Linked DNA regions of Homo sapiens: all the other regions are linked to region 7. The links are contacts of gene promoters, found by promoter capture Hi-C in blood cells and fetal thymus (Javierre and others, 2016). All regions are on one chromosome and are shown on one strand. Each heading gives the region's core, a stretch centred on a gene start or on the middle of the fragment in contact. The rest is flanking DNA. Distances are from core to core; before and after follow the strand shown.

The links. The method cuts DNA at HindIII sites, captures the fragments that hold promoters and counts their contacts. A CHiCAGO score of 5 or more calls a contact.
Region 1: a fragment that was not itself captured here is called in contact with the fragment with the promoter of SETD3 in region 7 in 4 of 17 cell types (activated CD4 T cells, neutrophils, total CD4 T cells and 1 more); the score reaches 5.9 in activated CD4 T cells.
Region 2: a fragment that was not itself captured here is called in contact with the fragment with the promoter of SETD3 in region 7 in 1 of 17 cell types (erythroblasts); the score reaches 6.2 in erythroblasts.
Region 3: a contact is called between the fragment with the promoter of DICER1 here and the fragment with the promoter of SETD3 in region 7, in 1 of 17 cell types (erythroblasts). The highest score is 5.1, in erythroblasts.
Region 4: a fragment that was not itself captured here is called in contact with the fragment with the promoter of SETD3 in region 7 in 3 of 17 cell types (neutrophils, monocytes and non-activated CD4 T cells); the score reaches 14.5 in neutrophils.
Region 5: a fragment that was not itself captured here is called in contact with the fragment with the promoter of SETD3 in region 7 in 2 of 17 cell types (neutrophils and monocytes); the score reaches 7.7 in neutrophils.
Region 6: a contact is called between a fragment that was not itself captured here and the fragment with the promoter of SETD3 in region 7, in 1 of 17 cell types (non-activated CD4 T cells). The highest score is 5.4, in non-activated CD4 T cells.

What each region holds. Positions count from the first base shown.
Region 1 is chr14:96,348,539-96,351,660 of GRCh38, reverse strand. All of the region lies in intron 1 of ATG2B (autophagy related 2B), which reads left to right. Among named protein-coding and RNA genes, the nearest start is that of ATG2B, 13 kb to the left of the region's middle. The HindIII fragment of the contact is 2,182 bases long and covers 505-2,686 here.
Region 2 is chr14:95,544,834-95,548,129 of GRCh38, reverse strand. No RefSeq gene overlaps it. Among named protein-coding and RNA genes, the nearest start is that of GLRX5, 11 kb to the right of the region's middle. RefSeq lists an enhancer at 1-347 and a cis regulatory region at 2,021-2,311. The HindIII fragment of the contact is 521 bases long and covers 1,036-1,556 here.
Region 3 is chr14:95,156,056-95,159,059 of GRCh38, reverse strand. It overlaps DICER1 (dicer 1, ribonuclease III), which reads left to right and starts at 1,531. Exons shown (of 27, transcript NM_177438.3): 1 at 1,531-1,830. DICER1-AS1 (DICER1 antisense RNA 1) reads right to left here and starts at 1,372. Exons shown (of 4, transcript NR_015415.1): 1 at 1,202-1,372; 2 at 826-867; 3 at 25-184. RefSeq lists enhancers at 1,061-1,130, 1,171-1,270 and silencers at 1,361-1,820, 1,881-2,240. The HindIII fragment of the contact is 7,422 bases long and covers 1-3,004 here.
Region 4 is chr14:96,370,854-96,374,031 of GRCh38, reverse strand. All of the region lies in intron 1 of GSKIP (GSK3B interacting protein), which reads right to left. Among named protein-coding and RNA genes, the nearest start is that of GSKIP, 8.9 kb to the right of the region's middle. The HindIII fragment of the contact is 4,904 bases long and covers 1-3,178 here.
Region 5 is chr14:95,525,507-95,528,594 of GRCh38, reverse strand. No RefSeq gene overlaps it. Among named protein-coding and RNA genes, the nearest start is that of SNHG10, 7.8 kb to the left of the region's middle. The HindIII fragment of the contact is 1,692 bases long and covers 635-2,326 here.
Region 6 is chr14:102,592,890-102,595,962 of GRCh38, reverse strand. It overlaps RCOR1 (REST corepressor 1), which reads right to left. Exons shown (of 12, transcript NM_015156.4): 1 at 2,776-3,073; 2 at 2,638-2,697. Among named protein-coding and RNA genes, the nearest start is that of RCOR1, 1.8 kb to the right of the region's middle. RefSeq lists silencers at 2,338-2,947, 3,008-3,073. The HindIII fragment of the contact is 855 bases long and covers 1,104-1,958 here.
Region 7 is chr14:99,479,304-99,482,285 of GRCh38, reverse strand. SETD3 (SET domain containing 3, actin N3(tau)-histidine methyltransferase) reads left to right here and starts at 1,427. Exons shown (of 13, transcript NM_032233.3): 1 at 1,427-1,558. CCNK (cyclin K) reads right to left here and starts at 877. Exons shown (of 11, transcript NM_001099402.2): 1 at 807-877. RefSeq lists enhancers at 617-986, 1,795-2,296 and silencers at 1,177-1,636, 1,747-1,946. The HindIII fragment of the contact is 7,554 bases long and covers 1-2,982 here.

The DNA.
Region 1 (3,122 bases), core at 346-2,845, 3.1 Mb after region 7:
GGGTTCAAGTGATTCTCCTACCTCAGCCTCCCGAGTAGCTGGGATTAAAGGCGTGGGCCACCATGCCTGGCTAATTCTTGTACTTTTAGTAGAGACAGGGTTTCACCATGTTGGCCAGGCTGGTCTCAAACTCCTGACCTCAGGCAATCTGCCTGCCTCAGCCTCCCAAAGTGCTGAGATTACAGGCTTGAGCCACTGCGCCTGGCCAATTTTTGTATTTTTTGTAGAGACGAGTTTCACCATGTCTCCCAGGATGGTCTCAAATTCCTGGACTCAAGCAATCCTTCTGCCTCAGTCTCCAAAATTGCTGGGACTACTGGCATGAGCCACTGTACCCAGCAAACATAAAAACTTTTACTGGAAATAAATTTCTTAATGATAGAGGTTGGTTGTGATCCCCTCCTCCCTAATTTGTTAGTGCATCCATAGGTGAATATACTTATAGCTGGAATTCAGCAGGGCTCGGCACACATTTTATTCTAAATTAAAATGTAGATACAAGCTTGAGAAATACTGATGTTATAAATCAGTAGATGAGAATTGAGAGATTTTGCAGGAGCAACATCACTGAGTTCTTTGAATTTCTGAGTGTCATGCCAAAAAAAGTATAAGATGGGAAAAGATAGAAAATGTACTGCTGGCCCTGTCTGGAGGTTTTTATACCTTAGACAGTACATAAGGGAGAATTTCTGAAGAGAGGAAGAATATGGCTATTTTGGCTAAATGGGAGAAGGAAGATTGTACAAGGAACTATGGGACAGGAGACCCAGCATGATGCCACCACTGTCTGTAGTCTTCTCAGTCCATTTTAGGAAAGAATATGTTTGGATGCTTATACCTTAAAACCATCCATGCCCATGTACTACTGGGAAAGTCTTTAGGATTATGCAAATGTCAGCATGAAGAAAGCCTTTTAAAGTAGTGATCTCCAAAAATAAAACGAGCCGATCAAGTCTCACTATTCAACACTAGGGTACAGACAAAGAATTATACTACCCTATGCAATATAGCATGCAGGAAGCACTTTACATATAAGCTGGCGTTTAATAAATATGTTATTTTAATTTGAAAAGTAAATTGTCTTTTAAAAATCGCATTTACGTTCTTTCTGTCTGTCTCCTGTTGTAGTCTGGTTTGCTCCACCATGCCACTGAAATTGCAGTTAATGGGATCACTAGTACTTTAAATATTACTGATTTCAGTAGACATTTAAAAATCTTTGACTTCTTGTTAGCTTTTGTTGAGCTTGACCACTCTTCTCTGTCATGTTGTTCTTCCATGATTTTCTGGGACATGAACCTCTTTCAATTTTCCTTCTATGTCTCTGTTTGCTTTTTTCTAGTTTCTTCTGCAGGCTCCTCTTTCATAACCCTTTTCTTAAATATTGGTGTCTATGAGTTCTGTCTTAAGCCACCTCTCATTTTACACTGTATAAGTTCCCAAACATTTCTCTCCTCGTGCTGTGGCTTCAGTTACCCATTTGTTTATTATTTTATTATTTTTTTGAGACAGGGTCTTACTAAGTTGCTCAGACTGGAGTATAGGGGCACAGTCTTGGCTCACTATAACCTCTGCCTCCCGGGCTTAAGCATTCCTCCCACCTCGGCTTCTCAAGTAGCTGGGATTACGGGTATGTGCCACTACACCTGGTTAATTTTTGAATTTCTTGTAGAGTCAGGGTTTTGATGTGTTGCCCAGGCTGGTCTCAAACTGCTCAGCTCAAGATCCTCCCGCCTTGGCTTCCCAGTGTTGGAGTTAAAGGCGTGAGTCACCATACCTGACCTACCCTCTGTGTTTGTAATGTTAATCTGTATCTCCCACCCAGATGGCTCTCCTGAGCTCTAGCTGGAGGAAGCTCCAGCTTCCTCCTTAGCACCTCTACCTAGATGTCTCCTTAAATGTGTACTTTGGAAGTGAACTTCTCATCTTCCCTCTAACCTGCTTCCCTGTGTTTCTGTATCTCAGTAAATGACACCTCTATCTAAGCAATTGCCCAAGCCAGCCTCCTAAGTGTCATTCATAATTCTTTCTTTCTTTTACCCCTCATGATGCCAATTAATCATTCTACTTCCTAAATATGTTACAAAAATTTATCCACTTGTGACTGTCCTCAGTGTTGCTATCTGTGCCAAACCAGCCTCTCTAGCTTCTATTACTCATAACAGCCTTCCTGCTGGCATCTTCCCTTCATGCTGTACATGGCAACTGAAGGGGCCCACTCAAAGTTTGAATCTCATCATGGCGTCCTTGCTTAAAGCCCTTCAGTGGCTTCACATCACCCTTAAGATAAATTTCAGACGCTTTAACATGCATTACAAGGCTCTTTGGATCCTACTCCTCTTTATCTACATAGCCTTGTCTCTGGGTCTTCGCCCTGGCACACTGAAGCCTAAAGCAACTTTTCTTTTTCAAATACTGCGATGTATCAAATATGCCTGCATGTATTTCTTTGACTTCTGCTTTCTTTGAATCCTTCCACATGCTTTGTTTTTGCCTGGACCATTTTGCCTGATTAACTCCTTCTGGTCTTCTGGTCCCAGCTTAAAATAGCACTCCTTCAAGTGGGCTGCCTTGAATCTGCAGGTTAGGTTCTATTATGTGTTCAAATAGCACAGTGTGTTTCCTCTGTATATAATCATCACACTTTAATTACTTGTCTCTTTCATGGTATACTATCTTGTAAGCTTAGTGAGGACCGAGATCATCTTTATCTTGGTCTCTGCTTTCTTTTTAATTTTTAACTTTTAATTTTTGTGGGTACATAGTAGGTATATATATTAATGGGGTACGTGAGATATTTGACACAGGCATACAATGCCTAATAATTACATCAGGGTAAAAGGGGTATGCATCACCTCAAGCATTTATCCTTTGTGTTACATATAATTCAGTTGTGCTCTTTTAGATATTTAAAAATGTACAATAAATTATTGACTGTAGCCACCTTGTTGTACTATTAATTACTAGATCTTACTCATTTTTTTTTTTTTTTGAGATGGAGTCCCCTGTCGCCCAGGCTGGAGTGCAGTGGCTCACTGCAGCCTCCGCCTCCTGGGTCCAAGTGATTCTTTTGTTTCAGCCTCCCAAGCAGCTGGGATTACAGGCACGTCCTACCACGCCTG
Region 2 (3,296 bases), core at 47-2,546, 3.9 Mb after region 7:
GCGCGGTACCAAGTCCAGGTGTAATCCAACATTAACTGTCAAGGTCAACTTACAGTGAGAGCTCATTATGAGCCATGGTCTCGACAGGGTGCTGTCATCTAAGCTTGTAACACGCCTGAGGTCGGTGGCATCTGCTATTTGCCCACTTAAGCAGGAAGGGAGGTTACTAAGTCGTCTGAGGTCAGTAGCACACCCAGCAAGTGCTGGGATGCAAACCCAGGGAGGGTGACTTGAGTCCCGGCTCTTAGCTACTGCGGTGTTGCGAGGCTGTAACCTGTAATAGCCTAACATTTCTTGTGACTAATCCAAAAGGAATGAAGAAAGGAAATTCTTCACTCTTTTCTAAATGTATTTTTTGGGGCACTCTGTATGCTGGCCAGAGGGGATCTGAATAAAGCCAAGTAACAGGCAGTTAGGTCCTGGAGTGATGAACAAAGAACAGGGCTGTAGAGTGGATTAAAGGGTCTGTTCCGTCTGGGGTCAGGGAAGGCTTTCTGGGATAGGAGAGACTTCACTGTGACACAACCGGGTGCCCCGGGAGGTTCACAAGGAGGAGAATAACATGGCTATTCTGACTGAATCCAGGATAGGGATCTTTGAGGTGAGGTGCACCTTCAGTGGCATCTCTGCCCTAAGGGAGACTCTGCCCTCAGCTCACCTGCACTGGGCTCCCAGGGCAACCGCCAAGAAAACAATGCTCCCCTCACGCAAAATGCCCACATAGCTTTCAGACCTAAAGTGATGCTACTCTCAGGAAATAAGACAGGAATGTGGCTTTACAAGAGTCCACCTGGTCACCCCATGCGTCTCTGTAAGCCCCTGGACCTTAAAATGGCTTTTCTCTTCACCATTCCTCTGCTCTGCTTCATAGTAGCTATTATATGGTTCTTAGGCACAATTTAAAGCTGCTTTTTAGATTTACTAAACAATTCTTAAGTGGAATGTTAAATTTTTAAAACAATCAGTGTTTTGTGTGGCCATCCCCTAATATATATCTTTTCCTGTCGGTGGCTCTCAGGAACCCACATGAAAGCTTTCTCACCTCACATTTAAATTTGTTTCTGCTGGGCGCAGTGGCTCATGCCTGTAATCTTAACACTTTGGGAGGCCAGAGTGGGAGGATCGCTTGAGCCAGGAGTTCAAGACCAGCTTGGGCAACACAGAGACCCTGTCTCTAAAAAATAAAAAAATTAGCCAGGTGTTGTGGTGCACATCTGAAGTCTCAGCTATTCAGGAGGCTGAGTGGGAAGGATTGCTTAAGCCCAGGAGGTCAAGGCTGCAGTGAGCCATAATCAGGCCACTGCACGCCAGCATGGGCAACAGAGCAAGACCCTTTTTCAATCAATCAATCAATCAATCAATCAATCAATCTGCACCAATGAAACCTTGCCGACACAAGTCATTCCTCTACCCTTAGCACAGTCCCTCCTGTCACAAACAAGGGACCTGATTTCTCAAAATATAATTTATGTCAAAATATCTAAGTAAACCTAACAAATGTAACAAGAATTCTCTCTTAAGCTGGCTGCTATGGCTTGAAAAGTTAAAGGAAAGCTTCGGTTCCCAGATTCTACACAAGTGAATTAAACACTGCCAACAAAACGAAACCCAACTTAAAAGTTATCTTCTGTCCTAAGATATCTCTAAAACTCATAGCTTAATGAAGCAGAATGCCATTTATGTAACTACCAATCCATGAAAAAAATAAAAACTACCTGAAATCATAAAATGTTTAATCTTCTAAAATAACTTGATTTCTAAGGGTCTAATCACACAGACCCTGAAGCTATGACAAATATCCAATATAATCACACTAATACAGGCCTAATGTATTTTAAATAGGTGCATTTAAACCCGAGAAGCAGTCCTTGCATTTTAAATAGGTGCGTGATACTGCTGTTTGCACAAGGAACCTCTGTGTCTCTGCTCTAATTCTCACAGTGAATTCTAATTATGCAGACCATCAAAATTATTCAGACTTACACTAGATAGCATCTTCAATTTTCTACTTGGTAGAGATTTGTTAGGCATATAGAAAAAAATTATTAATTAACTCTGAGAAAGAAGACTTACATTCCTCGTAGAGCCCAGTGATTCCTTCAACTTATAAGTTCCCTAGTGACTTTGATATGATCTCACTATGACTCATAAGCATGAGTCAAATTATTCACTTGGCAGCCTTTTCCTAGCTCCAATCATATTCTAGAGAGGTTTCTTACATTGATGCTTCCCATCAATAAGTTTCTCATCATTTCGCTTTTCAGATGAAACCTAAGGGCACACAGGCAGATTCAAGGAAAAGCCAAAAGAAGCAAAATTGTGAAAACGTATCACACTCCTCACTAGATGTGATGGCAAGGGACAATTTTGCAGACCCGGCCTCTGGTCCACGGCCTGTATCCATCCAGAGGCAGTATGAAGTGACTTATTCATGGTGACTCTGTCTACAGGGCAAGGTAGATCCTTCTAGTGCTCCTGCTTCCCTCATTTCTAAACCAAATGGCTCAAATGGATGTGTTTTAACCTCCTCTTAGATCCTAAGGTCCCTTAGCTTACAGAAGACATAAAGGTATCATGGGATGTAGCAGACAATTAATGTAATAACCTTTTTCTGAGAATAATCTATTTTTCTTTTCTCTAACACGGTGAGGTGGGTGACTGCTGAGGAGCAGTGCTCTAATCTGATGGGGCAGTCCCCAGGGTGGGGGCGTGGGGCTACAGCTTTCCTTCCCCTTCCAAAACCTCTGGGGAAGGGGAGCAGGGGCAACTCCATCAGTTCTAGCCTGACCTCATGGAGGAAGTCTGTTTTTAGAGTATTCTCGAGAGGAACTCAAGGAGATTAAATAAGCAACGAAGAACAAGCCTCTAGAATAGCTCTGGGGAAAAGAGCCGTTCTGTCCTTTTTGCCCTTATTATGAGAAAATGCATCCTTCTTCCCACCTCTGCCACCGTAAAGATATGTTTCTAGACAAGCGCTCTCTTTAAGTCCCTGGAGATGAACAAAGCCTCCATGCCACACCAGGCGGGCTTCCTTCCCATGGGCCTCTGCACAGCCCCAGGCTCTACCAGGCCCCAGTCTCGGGATGCAGAACTCATGGAAAGGTCTTATAAAGACACCAGACACTGGGAGAATCTCTGCCACAATTCCAAATTATGTCCTCTTTTAGAAAGTCCCCACTTTTTAAGAAGTAAAATACTCATTAAATCCCCTAGCTCGGTGGACTGTTGACGATGTCTCCCTATCTAACTGTAGCAGTGTGCCAAGCACAGGGCTCCAGAGATAGGCAGGTGGGGCC
Region 3 (3,004 bases), core at 282-2,781, 4.3 Mb after region 7:
GTTGTTCACTTACTGGCTACTTACTTGTTGGAAGTTATTCCATTTCTTCGTCTGTTAAAACAGGAAGCAGGCTGGGTACGGTGGCTCACGCCCGTAATCCCAGCACTTTGGGAGGCCAAGGCGGACGGATGACAAGGTCAGAAATCGAGACCATCATGGCCAACATGGTGAAACCCCGTCTCTTCTAAAAATACAAAAATTAGCTGGGTGTGGTGGCGTGCCCCTGTAATCCCAGCTACTCGGGAGGCTGAGGCAGGAGAATCACTTGAACCTGGGAGGCGGAGATTGCAGTAAGCCCAGGTCGCACCACTGCACTCCAGCCTGGAGACAGAGTGAGACTCCGTCTCAAAAGAAAAAAAAAAAAAAAACAGGAAGCAGTTTCAGCACCTACCTCACAATGTGCACACAGTTAAAGCACCTACCTCACAGGGTGCACACAGTTAAAGCACCTACCTCACAGGGTGCACCTAAGGATCACAGGCATGCAAGCCCTAGATCAGCCTGCCCAATGGCAATATAATGCAGGCCACAGGTGACATTTAAAATTCTGTAGAACCCACACTAAAAAATAAACAAATAAAACTTTTATCCCAATATATGGAAAAAGTTTATCACTTCAACATGTAACAATTTTTTGAACATTATTTGGTAAAGAATGCATATATCTCGATTCCGACTAGCCATACTTTAAGTGCTCAGGAGCCATGTGGGGCTGGTGGCCCCAAACTGAACAGCACAGCCCAGGCAGCAGGGGCGCATAGTAGGTTCTGCTCACGCCCATGGTCTGAAAGAAACACGGTTGCAGTTGCTGTGAGCACACCTCACCTGGAGCAAACCGGCCTATCAGGGGGTCCACTGAAGAGATGTCTACATTTGGGGATAAATTAAGAAGATGTTCTTTAAGCCAGCCACTTATTTAATTCCCACCGATATTTTAATTCCTAGCTTCAAGCTGTGGTGCGCGGTTCCGACCTATGCAAATGAACAGCTTACAAACAGAGGGCCACCATCTATTTCTCATTATCTGGGGATCCCGGTTGGGGTGGGGGGCGGAAGTGGGTGTTTGTTATTTCCCCAAATGCGGAGGCCCCTGCACCACTAACGCGAGGAAACGCAGGCGAGTGGGAAGGTACTTTAAAAAGGGGAGGGAGGTGCTCAGAGGGAAGCTAAGCTCTCCGGGAAACAATTACGGCCACGTTACGGTCTGTGGGTGCCAGAAGGAGCAACAATGGAGGCAGTCGAATTCCGAGAGCTCAGAGAGTCTGCCAAACTTAGCCGGCCTCGGCGCGCGGGTTCCCGGGGGCCCCAAAAACTCCGGGCAACTGCGGCCCAACGCCAAGGTCCAGTCCAGGCGCTGGGCCGCAAACGCCTCTCCGGCCTCCGCGCGCGCGCCCGCTGTCTCCCTGCTCCTGAGTGGCTGGGGGGCCGGGATTAACCTTTCACCGCCAGGCCCTGTCCAATCACAGGCTCGCTCTCATGCCGCCACGGGGCGAGCGGAGCGTGGGGGCGCGGAGGGGCGGTGCGGGAGCCAGTGGGATTCTCCAAGCGGCTGTGCGCCGTTGCCGCGGGCCGTGCGCTGGCTGCCGGCCAGCCGGGCGCTGCGCAGTCTCCGCAGGCGCCGGCGGGAGGGGTCGAGGCGGAGGCGCGGCGCAGGCTGCTGCAGGCCCAGGTGAATGGAGTAACCTGACAGCGGGGACGAGGCGACGGCGAGCGCGAGGAAATGGCGGCGGGGGCGGCGGCGCCGGGCGGCTCCGGGAGGCCTGGGCTGTGACGCGCGCGCCGGAGCGGGGTCCGATGGTTCTCGAAGGCCCGCGGCGCCCCGTGCTGCAGGTGAGGCGGGCTCCCGCGGAGCAGCTTTGTGTCCGGGGCGGGGAGCGGGTCGCCTGGCCGCGCTCCCGCCTCCGCGCGGAGGCCCGCGTGCCGGCCATGGCCCCGAGCCGCGCGTCCGGGCCTGGCGGGCGCTGACGAAGGGCGCGGCCTCGCCTGCCTCGTCGTCCCGCACAGCGCGGCCTGTGGACCCGGCGTCTGCCCGCCTCGGCTCTGCTCCTGGGCCCGGACCCCGGCGCCTCCCCGCGAGGCAGCCCTGGGAGACTTTCCGGGCCGCCGTGGCGTGGTGGGGGATGCCGGCGCCTGTCCACTCCCCGGCCTGGCGAGGCCTGGGGCTCTTGACAGGTCCCGTCACGCGCGCTAAGGTGGCGCGGGAGCAGCGGAGGTGGAGACGCGCGCCTGACCTGCCGGAGCACCCTGGGGCCCTCCTCTGATGGGGCCGCTGTGCCGCGCCCGGAGGGGACGAAGCTGGGCTCTCGGTCCCTCCCGGGAGGGTCCTGTGTGATTACTGTCAGGGGACCAGATTGGGGCCCTGGGGGGCGGGCAGGGGCCGAGGCCATTCTTTTGCCTCTCCCCTCAGATGTTTTTGTGCCAAAATGCCTAGACCCTGCGGAGGACCCTTTCTTCAGGGTTTTTGATTTTGGGGAAATCAGTGTATGTTTTAAGTTAGCACATCAGATTTCTGTAGATTGTCCAGAAAAGCTGAGTTGCCCTGATGGCTCTGCCTGGAGGTCAGAGCCAGCAAACCACTGAGTGTGTCCTTAGGAACCTGAAGATCCGCGGAAACGTGGAGATGAGTTGGAGGGTCCTATTTGTGTAGTGTTAACTCCGTGCTTTTGTGGAGAGAGTTGTGGTTAAAGGGACACGTTACTGGTCTACACGATAAGTAAGTGTTCTTAGGACTTTCAGGTTTTAAAAACATTCATCTGATGAAAGAGGATCACTTGGACGCCTATGCTTCTGTCTTCGAATATTCTGAATCTTTACAATCCTGATTGTCAGGTGTCTTCGTGGTGCTTGTTTTCAAACAGTGGAAAAGGACTCAGGTTAGGATTTAAGCAACTCGGAAAATATTGTTAAAAATGTGCTGTTAAAACAGGTTAGCTATATTGAATATGTATTGGTGTAAACGTTAAGTTTTCTAAATAAAAATATACATCCTCACCAAAAAACTCAG
Region 4 (3,178 bases), core at 104-2,603, 3.1 Mb after region 7:
CTCTCAACGGACAGATTTTTCTTCTCAATTGTAGGTTATATTCTGCTGCTCTGCATGCCTGGTCTTTTCTGACTGGATGCCAGACATTGTGAATGTGGTGCTGAATGTTTTTATATTATTTTAAATATTATTGAATTCATTTGGTTAGACGCATGGTGAGAAAAAATTTAAAAAGTAATAAATATTGTTGAGCATTGTCCTGGGAGGTAGTTATCTGGAAACAGCTTGATCTTTCTGGGTCTTGCTTTTAGACAAGATCTGCGTTTAATCTCTAGTTAATTCTGTCCCATTACAGAGGCAAAACCTTTCTGAGTACTCTACCCAATGCCCTATGAATTACGAGGGTTTCTATTCTGTGTGATAAGAATGGGAATTATCCCTAGTCCTGCTTTAGCTCAGAAAACTGTTTCCTGTAATTCTTTTTTTTTTTTAATGGAAGAACAGAAATGATTATTAAACACATGAAAATACACTCACAGTTAGAAATTATAGAAATAATTAAAATGAGGTAACATTTAACATCTTGCAGATCAGTAAGACATTTTCCTTTTTGAGTCTATGCATAAAAAATTTTCTAAATCAAGTATTATTGAGGATGCAGAACACAGAACATTTAGACACTGAGTGGGAGTGTAAACTGGCACAACACTTTGGAAAATGATTTGATATTATCCAATAAAGATGAAGATCCAGCAACTTAGTCTCCAAAGAAATGAGGAGATGTATAATTTTCATATCACCTCTGCTTCAGAAAGTCCCAAACTGAGTATCCTCCTTTCTTTTTTTTTTTTTTTTTTTTTTTGAGACAGAGTCTCGCTCTGTCACCCAGGCTGGAGTATAGTGGTGCTATCTCAGTTCACTGCAATCCGGGCCTTCTGGGTTCATGCCATTCTCCTGCCTCAGCCTCCTGAGTAGCTGGGATTACAAGTGGCCACCACCGTGCCTGGCTAATCTTTGTATTTTTAGTATAGACGGGGTTTCATCATGTTGGTTAGGCTGGTCTCAAACTCTTGACCTCAAGTGATCCACCCACCTCAGCCTCCCAAGTGTTGGGATTACAGGCGTGAGCCACAGCACCTGGCCCCTCCTCTCATTCTTTTTGGTAGTTCTTTCCCCAGCCTAGGGCAGTGAACTCATGAATTAGTATTCAGCTACAGGCTGGAGGGAGACCCTTCCTATATCCTCACAGTCCTTGCTTTCTGTGAAGCTATTTACTTTCTAGTACTCTGTCCTAGCTGCCTTGGCCTTCTTGGGTTTCCAGCTCTATGTCCTCAATTCAGGGAGACCATCAGGCTTTACCTGGATTTTTCTTTCCAGTGCCATGCCTGGCTCTAGGCAATACAATAGGGCAACAGGCTCACCATATTTGTATGATGCTTCTCAGGGATCACCTATACTACTCTGAACCAACTTTTACCATCTTGTTGTTTGTTTCATTAATGAATTAAATGCATTTTGACACATGCTCACCATATGTTTTATGAGATCCATGTTTTTAACTTAAAAAATTTTATTTTAACACGACTTTGAAGACTTTTAGTCCTCTAAAATTCAGCTCAGACAAACCTATTTCAGGATTGTGTATCTGCTCTCAAGATGGCCAATCACTGTATCTTCCTGAACAGCATCTCTGCTTTGGTACTGCTGTACTTAAGCCTCATGGCAAATAATTTTTGTGTCTGTACTACTACAGACCCATGAAGATGGGAGCCTGTGATATACACATCACCAGCACAGTGTCTGGCATAAAGCAGGACTTCATTGAATATTTCCTGAATGAATAAAACAGAGAAAATTCTAACTCTCTGCTTCTCAGGTGTGATACTCGGCTCTGTGACAAGGAGTATACAAAGACTCAGGACAAACATGGCAGATATTCTTGGAAAATACATATCACTGTTACTATATCAATATCAGGAAATATTACAGAACTGCCTAGAATTTTAATGAAAAAGTACACAAATGTTTGGATGTCTCAAGCCACATCCTCTTTAGATTATACCCCTACGCGTCTAGGGTTTCCTTTGCCTCTAAAAGGTACATTCGAGTGAGGAATATTGGCATGAAAAATACGTTTTAGAAGTATAGCCCTAACCCAAGGACTTAATTCAACAAGATGAAAATTTCAGGCACCGTGTCTGGCAGTATAAAGTTAACAAGCAGAGGCAGGAGCTGGTAAAAGGATACAAGGTTAGGGCTGAGTTAGGCCTTCTCTAAGTTTTTGCAACTCTTTCCACTTCAGTTATGCTATTGCTCTTTGTTAAAAATTAATTGTTGATAGTTTTGGCTGGGTGTGGTGGCCCACACCTGTAATCCCAACACTTTGGGAGGCTGAGGCAGGTGGATCACTCAAGGTCAGGAGTTTGTGACCAGTCTGGCCAACATGGCGAAACCCCATCTCTACTAAAAATAGAAAAAAATTAGCCAGGTGTGGTGGCACGTGCCTATAATCCCAGCTACTGGGGAGGCTGAGGCGGGAGAATCTCTTGAACCCGAGAGGCAGAGGCTGCAGTGAGCTGAGATTGCACCAGTGTACTCCAGCCTGGGTGACAGAGTGAGACTCTGTCTCAAAAAAAAAAAAAAAAAAAAGATTGTTGATAGCTTTAATTTTTTAATATTCTAATTTTCCTATGGTGAAAAGAAAATGATTATGTTTTCAATAAGAAAAAACAATTTAAAAATTGCAGTCTTTTGGAAAGTATAGGGTGTAGGAAGCAGAAATCTTTTTCTTAGAGAAGTCAGGTTATTATTCAGACACTTAAAATAACTGGTAGCATCAGTTACAAATAAAACAAGAGTTCTGAATTTATCTGCATTTCCAACAACTGTTTTGAAAGTAAAGATGAATAAAGTTTATTAATTATTATCAGCAAGATTTAGAATTTAGGCAAAGCTAAAACTCAATTTAACCTTTGTTTTCTGTAACACATAACATTTAATCTGTTTTCAATAGCTTACAGATGTATTTGTTTTGAAATAAAACATTTTAATTCAGAATCATGTGTAGTATCACAAATATAAAGTATTTGTAATTCAAGTAAGAATGGCTATTTTCCCATTTATACTCTGGTTTATAAAATTATTCTGCACCCCATTTTCAGCAATAACACAGACATATTTATATTCTTGTAATTATAAATCTAGACAACAGAATTGTGCTTATCTTAGTCTCTATGTA
Region 5 (3,088 bases), core at 231-2,730, 4.0 Mb after region 7:
TAGCAAAAAAGAAATTCACCCCAGTTTAATTGCAGGGAGGGGAGGGATGATTCAAGTTAGAAATGGGATGAGGCATTAATTATTCATTTTCCTTTGCTGGCAAAAAAAAATGGAGGATTTTAAATTTTTTTGTTCTCCTTTTACAGCCAGAAAAATCCTATTTGCTAATTCTAAACTTAATATTTTTTGAAAGGGTATCCTAGTGAGATATTGTTCATTGATATCAAATTTTAGTGAGCCACAGTTTCAAAGAGTTTTAATAAAAGACTATCAAAAGACTGGGTGTGGTGGCTCATGCCTGTAATCCCAGCACTTTGGGAGGCCGAGGCAGATGGATCACCTGAGGTCAGGAATTTGAGACCAGCCTGGCCAACATGGTGAAACCCCATCTCTACTAAAAATACAAAAAATTAGCCGGGCGTGGTGGCGGGTGCCTGTAATCCAAGCTACTGAGGAGGCTGAGGCCGGAGAATCACTTGAACCCAGGAGGCAGAGGTTGCAGTGAGCCAAGATCACGCCATTGCACTCCAGCCTGGGCAACAAGAGCAAAAGTTCATCTTAAAAAAAAAAAAAAAGACTATCATAAAACAATTACATTTTGTTTAAAAAAAAAGGAGTTTTTTTTGCATAAGCTTTATTACATAGGCAAAATTGGGTGACTTGAGGAGAAGCTGTTATATTGGCAAACCTTCTTCCCTCTCCAGATAGACGGTGATCTGGCATTTTCATATCATAGCTGTATGAGTGCAGCCTTGAGGGGACATGCCAGTCTAGTCGATGTGAAATCAATGGGATATTCCCGTTGGTTCATCTCTTCATACCATGCAGCCACAGATCCGTGATAATCCACACATACTATTGGCTGTCTAATTACAGAGCAAATAATATCCTCTTACTTGAAGGAATTTTTACTTGTGTTCAGAAAAATAACACATCTTTCAAAGTCATTCTGGTTTTGAGAAATACATTTTATAATAGAATGAGTCTCTGTCTTTCCTGGCAAGGCAGGTAGGGGGCACTAGTCTATTTTACTGAGGAAGCTGGGGCAAGAGCCAATAAGGGCTGCCCCTGTAATTATACATTCTCTGGGAATTAATCATTTTGCTCAATTCTAGGAAAAGTCTCTCAGTTCTTACCCAAGTGCTATTCTTATTTTAGGGAATAGCTAACTTACTTAGTTTTCTAATATAACCACAACAGATCAGAAGCAGTAAATTTTAAAAGGCTAACACTAAAAGCAGAAAGAAACAATGACTGAACAGTAAGTGAAAGGTGAAGCACTAAGAGGCAGACATTCTGGGATTCTTCTTAAAAAGCAGCATTCTGGGGCATTCGATGTAAGGAGGGGCGAACAGTCTTCACCCGTGACTGTTCCTTGTGCACTAGTGCCTTGTATTATGCTTCCGAGCAAGAAAAAGAAATTCTTTTCCCCATGCTCTGAATAGGAAGTCAAGGAAACATGCAGTTTATTTTAGCTTGCCAACAAAAACTACACACACACACACACACACACAGCTTAAGGTTATGTTAAAAAAAGGAATACTTTACTCCATTGTGCCAGATAAAGTTATTCTAACTCTGTTACATACTTCATGTTAGTACTTGGAAGACACCTTGGAAATACCTAGTACATTTCATCAGGTGTTGAGGGACTGAATAATACTGGTGTAAAGTTGAATTTTTCTAACTGTGTAAACCAGTGGGCTTGATAAGAGAGCTCAGCCGACGTTACGTCAGAAAGGGCCGTCCATAAAGTGGTTCTGCAAATGCTGATGTCAACCCAGGACACACAATTAGAGGCCTCAAAGAATATAACCACCTCACTTGTGCTACTACCCAGCCCTGTTTCACAGTGGTTGGGGATCAGAACCTCTTCAGGGAGTGTATGCATTGTAATTGTATCTGTTTATTCCTCCCCCCACCCCCACCACGCACACACTAGGCCATCAACTTCTAGTTGGGTAGGATTCATTTTTGTAACCTGGTGCCCTAGTGCCATCCCTGGCACTTACTATATGTTCAATAGATAATTCTTGAATAAAGAATACATAACCTGGTGAACAATACAGAGCAGGATCTCAGCAAATCCCAAATTGTGTGAAACTCATAATATCGAGCACAGGTGCCATAGGAGGTGGAGAAACATTCAGTGAGGCACCCACAGGCTCTGCGCTAAGCAGGATACAGAGTGGAGTAAGAGGCTGCCAAATCCCAAGGACCTCGCAGTCCTGTGATGGGGACAGATGCAAGAATGCCCCCGAGAACTGGAGAAGGGAATGGAGCTCTCGGAAAAAGCTCAGTCAGCGCCTAAGGGATAGGAAAAGCTTAGTAGGGGGTGACACTTGAACTGAGTTTTGAGAGAAGGGTAAAGTGCTTCTATATAAAAAGGAGGGACATTCCAGGAAGAGGGAGCAACCAGGGCAAAGGCACAGAGGCCCCTGGGTCCACTGGGAGAATGCCAGGCCGTTTCTTGAGAAATGCAGGACTGGACATAGCTGAGGGGAGGACAGATGGTAAGGGACTGGGCTCTCCTCCTCTGGATGAGGGAGAGTCCCAGGAGGAGTGTAAGCTGCAGAGTGCTTGAGAGATCACCCTTGCGGGAGTGTTGATGGATTGGAGGTGGCCGAGCTAACGGGGCCACTTAGGAGAGGGTCATCAGATTTAACCTTTGCAGGTATTGGGGTGGGGGCATGGGGGAAGGGCACTGCTGCAAGCTGAGTTCTTTGAAGGTAGGGATGACAGCATTTGGTGACTGGCTGACTGTGGGGAGGGGGCTGGGAGGAAGAGGGGAAGATTCAGGCTTATTCCTAGGGTTTTGCTTAGCCACTGACTGCACTTGATGATGCAGGGAATACAGCGGGAGGGGGAAGGAGGATTGGAAAGGTAAGTTCAGGAATTACTTTTGGACATTTCTGTTTCCAGGTGCCTGAGGAACATCTAAATCATCAGGTTATGTCTGAAATAAAGGGAGAGAGTATGCAGATTATTGCCTCTACGGGTCTGGATCTATTGATAAAGGAGATTTGGGCGGGTGGGGGGGCAAGAAGGAGTGCAGAGAAGAAAACCTGGGGAACGCATATCGCTGGGG
Region 6 (3,073 bases), core at 282-2,781, 3.1 Mb before region 7:
GGTTGGCAAAACAAGGTTTGAAATTACTTTACACCAGTTAGATTCCTTTCCAGATTAAAACAAACACAAAATAAAGAAATTTGGGGCCGGGCGCGGTGGCACATGCCTGTAATCCCAGCACTATGAGAGGCCGAGACGGGCGGATCACGAGGTCAGGAGATCAAGACCATCCTGGCTGACACGGTGAAACCCCGTCTCCACTAAAAATACAAAAAATTAGCCAGGAGTGTTGGTGGGCGCCTGTAGTCCCTGCTACTCTGGAGGCTGAGGCAGGAGAATGGCGTGAACCTGGGAGGCGGAGCTTGCAGTGAGCTGAGATCACACCACTGCGCACTCCAGCCTGAGGGACAGAGCAAGACTCCGTCTCAAAAAAAAAAAAAAGAAATTTGGAAATTTTAATATCAATACTCAACCAATTGGCAGCAAGACTATGCAGCAAAACAGTTAGATGTTTTCCTTTTTATTTCTGAGACAGGGTCTCACTCTGTCACCCAGGCTGGAGTGCAATGGCCAGATCACTGCTCACTGCAGCCTTGACTTCCCAGAGATCCTCCAGCCTCAGACCCCCCCGTAGCTGAAACTACAGGCACATGCCACCATGCCCAGCTAATTTTTTTATTTTTTGTTGAGACAGAGTCTGACTACATTGCCCAGGCTGGTCTCCAACTCCTGAGCTCCAGAGATCCTCCAGCCTTGGCCTCCCCAAGTGTTGGGACTACAGGTGTGAGCTACTGCAATCTGATAAATGTTTTCCATTTTAGAATAGCTGGTCACTAGCAAGTTTATGCTCATATCTATTCCAACAAAAAGCCCAAAGACAGTTCAAAATATTATATTTGCTGTTTCAAAGAAAAGTATAACTCCAAAGAAGTCAAACTCATTACTAACAATGCAGAGCTGATGTCAATATTTCGATGAATGTCAGAAATCTAATTCCTGTTGTTGACAAATATGCCCTTTTCCTTAGTCACATCCAACACATCTACATAAAGTTTTCAAAATTTATGTTAACAAAAATGTATCAAAAAGCCTACCAACTTACTCAAAGATTTGTGGAAGTCGATTTTTAAAAATAATACATTAGGAAAATTTGGTAACAAGCTTTATGTTCTGTGTTTTAAAGCAAAGATAGACTTGACCTACAAAATGAAGACAGGGTCAACTGTAACCAAAAAACAGTATGCTTCCCCTGGTGGCCAACCAAGGAACGGAGGAGCCAAGCATACAAGAGATATAGCCTGGCCACCTAGTTCTATCCTGTCACTCATAAACGAGAAGTGACTACCAAAAAAAAAAAAAAGAATTGGGGAGAAGAGGAAACTATCAAAAACACTAACATGGACTTAAAAGAAACACAAACGCGAGTATTAGACAAATAAATTTAACAGATTTACGTCAACAAATCAAAATTTAGAAGGCCAATTTAGGAAGTCATTTATTTCCAGAGTGTCCAAGAGCTCACCTAGGACCTCTATGTATTTTCACTTCAAAGTGCAGTTTAGTACCTTAATAACAGCTTGAGAGCAATCGCCTTTTTCAAGGACTAGATCATTGCAATTTTCTGCAGTCTTGTTTCCAAGGAAAAAACATGTATGCGTTTATCTTTTCAAATAAACTAGTGGTATAACCCACATACAGAACCCCAGCTCTAAAGCCCTCCAACCATGGAGGATTGTTAACTCCAGCTTTACAAGATGCTCTTTTGAATTTTATTTCTGAAATAAATCCTACGTTCTTTCAAACATTTTCCATACCAACAACCTTTAAAGACAGTCTCATACAGACACTGGCTAGAATCTCATGCATTAAAATCTGACGAATTCCTTTGTCTGATCGGATTTTTTTTCTTGTACCACTTTAAATTTGCTTCTACACAGAATAGCAGCCAGGGAACTAAGTGTTCCATTCTAGGGTGTAGGGCTTTCTTGTAGGTGAAAAGCATTTGTTAGGCTAAAGCTTCTGATGCTTCTCAATTTCACAATCTCTTCCTCCAAAAAAAAGGAAATACACACATTTACAAATAGGTCCTAAAATCCAACTGCCACACGCGAGACTCTCTTCCCCAGGCAGGCGCCCTCTGGAAAACACACTTCTTTTATTGACTGGTTTTGGGGGGTCGTTCTTCTACTCGCCTTCTGGATGGGAGGGCAGTCAGGAGCCAGCAAGAGCCCAGAGGCTGAGAGGAGGAGCAAAGGCGTGGGGAGCAGCCTTTGGGAAGGGTTCCGAGAAAGGGGTCTCTGGGGACCTCCTAAGTCCGGGGCGCTCGCAGGACACTAACTCTCCGGCACTGCCACCCTTACCCCTGGCCGAGGCGCAGCTCACCTGGACGCAGGGACCCCCAGCGCCCCCAGGCCAGGTGTGGCCACCTCCGACGCCACCCGCAGTCCTCGGAGGCGCAAGGGGGCAGCGGCGCCGGCCCTGCTGGGGGCGACCTGGCCTCCCCCGGGTGCAGAGGCACGTTTGCAGAACACTCGTGTGCGTGTGCGCCTCCTCGTCCTCGCCCTGCTGTTCTCCCCACGGACGGCAGGGCGAACGCACAAAAAGAAAGTTGTCGGCGGGCTCCCGCCCCCTCGGGCTCGCCGGGGACCCGGGGCTCCCGCTCATCCCCGCCGCCGGCCGGCCGGGGCCGCTACTCACCGGGGTCGAAGTCGGGCACCACCGCCTGGTACTGGGGTCCGACCCTCATGCCACCGCCACCTGCGGGGGAAGCAGAATACGGCGGTCAGCGCGGCGCGGGGCGCGGGGCCCGGGGCCGCGGGGGCGGCTGCCACCTACCGTGCTCCTCGTCGCTGGACGAGCCCGAGCTGCCTTCCTCCCAGGAGTTGCTGCTGCTGTTGCCATTGGGCGCCGCCGCCGCCAAACTTTTATTCTGGCCATTATTGGGGGCGGCGGCGGCTGAGGCGGCGGCGGCCGAGGCTGAGGAGGCGGCGGCGCCCGAGGCGGCAGTGGCGGCTGGCGAGGCGCAGGCGGCCGAGGCGGCGGCGGAGGCGGCGGCGGCGGAGGCGGAGGCGGCCGCGTTGTTCCTCCCTCTCCGCTTCCCTGAGACCTCGGGGCCCTTCTCCACCATGGCCGG
Region 7 (2,982 bases), core at 178-2,677:
ATTTAGATCGAGATACACAAACATCACCAAGTTTCTCTTAAAAACACAGAAGACCACCCTTAAGAAATGCTCTTAGAAATAGTTCCTAACCTCAGATGACTTAGCGAAAGCTCCGTTTAACTGGCAGTCTAAATTTAGGGAGCATTACCGAGCCTATCTTGGGCAGACAATCGTTTAGGAGCTGTCACATAACCTCTAGACTTACGCTCCAATTTTCTAAAGAACAATTTCTCTCATAACAAACCAAATCAACCACCAGGAGCGGGTCCGTAAAGACGATGTCTGGGCAAGAACGAAATCTAATCCCGGAAGTGCCTTTTCCTCATCTTAGCCGCACCCTCGTTACGTGGCTCTCCAAAACTCCAAAGTCGGAGTACCCTAGACATGGAACAACCTCCAAAAAGTTTCAGGCCTAGCCAAGGTTGGGACTAATACGCCGCGAAATAATCGGGGAGATATGAGAAGTCTGTGGCTGTGAGACTGTGCGCGGTTAACACCGCTGCCCCTTTTGCCCAACCCCTAGAAAGTTCCCCAACTCTGACTGCCCCCCAGTGCGAGGGCCGCTACCAGTTCTAGGGTGAGTCCGGCCTCCCTGCCCCGCCCCGGCGCCTCAGACCCTCTCTACACGCCCGCCCCACAACCCCGCGTCGCCCGCAAAGTTCAATGTGTACCGGAGGTTAGCGGAGGGAGGCAGAATCCGGAAAGAGAGACTCCGCCAGTGGATAGCGGCGGTTGGCCATAACCTACTCCGACCTCCAGATACGCGGGAGGTGGGCGGCGCTGCCCTCAGTCGGTGGGTCACTCACCCCTCGCTTCAGGCAAGCCCCTCAGCGACGTCTCTCCTTGCCGACTGCGGCCATCTTGTATATGGAATGTCGGGGACCTACGTCATCACGCTGCGTCCTGAGACGCCACCAAGCGACCGGAGGGGCGGAGAGAGTAGGATGCCTGTCAACCAATGGGAAGAAAGCAGAGCTCTCAAAAGAGGAACGAGCCGCCGCTCTCCTCCCCGCCCGCCCCGCGGGTCAGTGGCTGCTGCTTACAGAGGGAGGAGCCAGCCACAGGGCCCATCCCGTCGGTCCCGCCCCTCGGGGCGAAAAGGCATTCTGGAGCAACCGAACCTGCTAACGGAACTTGGGCGCGTAGGCGGGGCCCGGGTCGAGATTCGTCCAATCAAAGCTCTGGCGGGGGCGAACGCAGCCAGTTGCGACATCGTGGTTGGCGGCGGCTGAGCCGGCCGCTCTTGCCCCCGGGAGCTGCCAGCCCACTGGCTGGGGAGGACCCCGAACGGAACGCCGGCTGGGTGGCGGGGCGGGGCCGCGCCCATGCGTCCGAAGCGTGGGCCAATGAACGGCGGCGGCTGCGGCCCGGGGGCGGGGTCCGGGGCGGGAGGAGAAGCGTTGGGCCGCGGTCGCGGGGCCGTCTCAGGCTGCCGTCCCGCCCCTCCCGTCCGGCCGCCGCCGCCGCCACCGCCGCCACCGCCTGGGGGTTGGTTGAGGCGGACGGCGGGGTCCGGGCCGGAGTACGTCGTTCCCGCTGCGCTAGGGGAAGCGGGCAGGTGAGTGCTGGCGGCGGTCTCTGCGCCCGCGCGGCCCGCGGGGGAAACTCGCGCCGCGTCTCCGAGCTCTGCGAGGCCGTCCCTCGCCCTGGCCAGCGCCCCTCGGCCGAAGTCCGGCCCGCGCCCCCGCCAGGGTCCCCGCCGGCCGCTGTGGCCCCGGGGCTTGAAGGGGCAGGTGTGCGCTCGGGGGCCAGGGCGAGGAGGGCCCGGCGGGGTCGGAGGGCGCCGGTCGGCCTCTGCCCGGGCGCCCTGCGGGGCGAGAGGCGCGCGCTCGCCGCTGCCCTGTCCCCTCTGGCGCCCACGCTCCCGGGCCCCGCGCCACCCGGTCTCGAGGTGGTGCCAGGTGCAGGCAGCGCTCTCCCCGAGCTTGCCCCGCTGTCCCCGGCCCTCGCGCCTGCTCTCGGGTGGGGCCCGGGCCCCTCGCGCTAGTCGGCTCGGCTCTGCGCGCGGCCGGGTCGCGCTCCCATTTCCTTCCTTCCTCCCGTCACCCCGCTGCTCGGGGAAGGCTGTGCGGTTTTATGTTCCTCTCTGCGAGTTCTCGGTGCCCACCAGGGTGCCCGGGGACCAGCCCCCGCCTCCTCCCGCGCCGTCCAGTTAGGAAGACGGACGTAGGAAATAGGTCGTCTTTCTTCCCACGCGCCCCTGGCCGTGCTCCACACGCGCAGTGCCCTACTAGGGAGAGGCAATTCGGTGCTTTAGAGTTTGTCATTCCGGCGTTAACTCTTCCTCCTCGTGGCTCCAGCCCGGCGATGCAACTCTTGTCTTTTCCCGGTCTCCACTTGGGAAAAGGAGCTGACAGTGACGCGCGCCCCTGGCTGCGGGGCTCACCCCTGCCCGGCCGGTGTTGGGAGGAGGGCATTTCAGTGTTGCAAAGGCATTCGCGGGTTAGGACCACTCGGACCGTGTTATTTTGCTTTTCTAAATAAATAAGGTGATGTTTCAAAAGCAAAAATACTTTTAAAGTATGCTGACAAATCAATTTTGCTTTTAAGAATCCTCGAAGAGTTACCCCATCTTCGTAGCCTGATTGTGGTGCTGATGAGGCCACTATAAATGCGTTTGTCAGAACTCAGAACCGGACACTGAAAAGTGTGAATTTTATCTTATGTAAAATATACCTCTCCCTCTCCCGTTTTTCTTCTTGAAATGACCTTGCCAGTATTTCAAAACTGAACTAACCAGTAATAATCTCGGAGAAGTGTTTATTATTTTAAGCGAATACATTTAACCCAAGAATATAGCAAAATAAAGCAGTCTTCCTCTCCACTGTTAAAATTTGCCAAGACTTGCTTGAACCTTGCTGTATGTACTGTGTTTATACGGGCTACCATGCGTGAAAGTCCAGCAGTACTGGATTAGTCCCAAGGGCTGCCGTGATTGATACTTTGGTGAAATTCCAACAGTTTACCGAGGAGTTTTTCTTC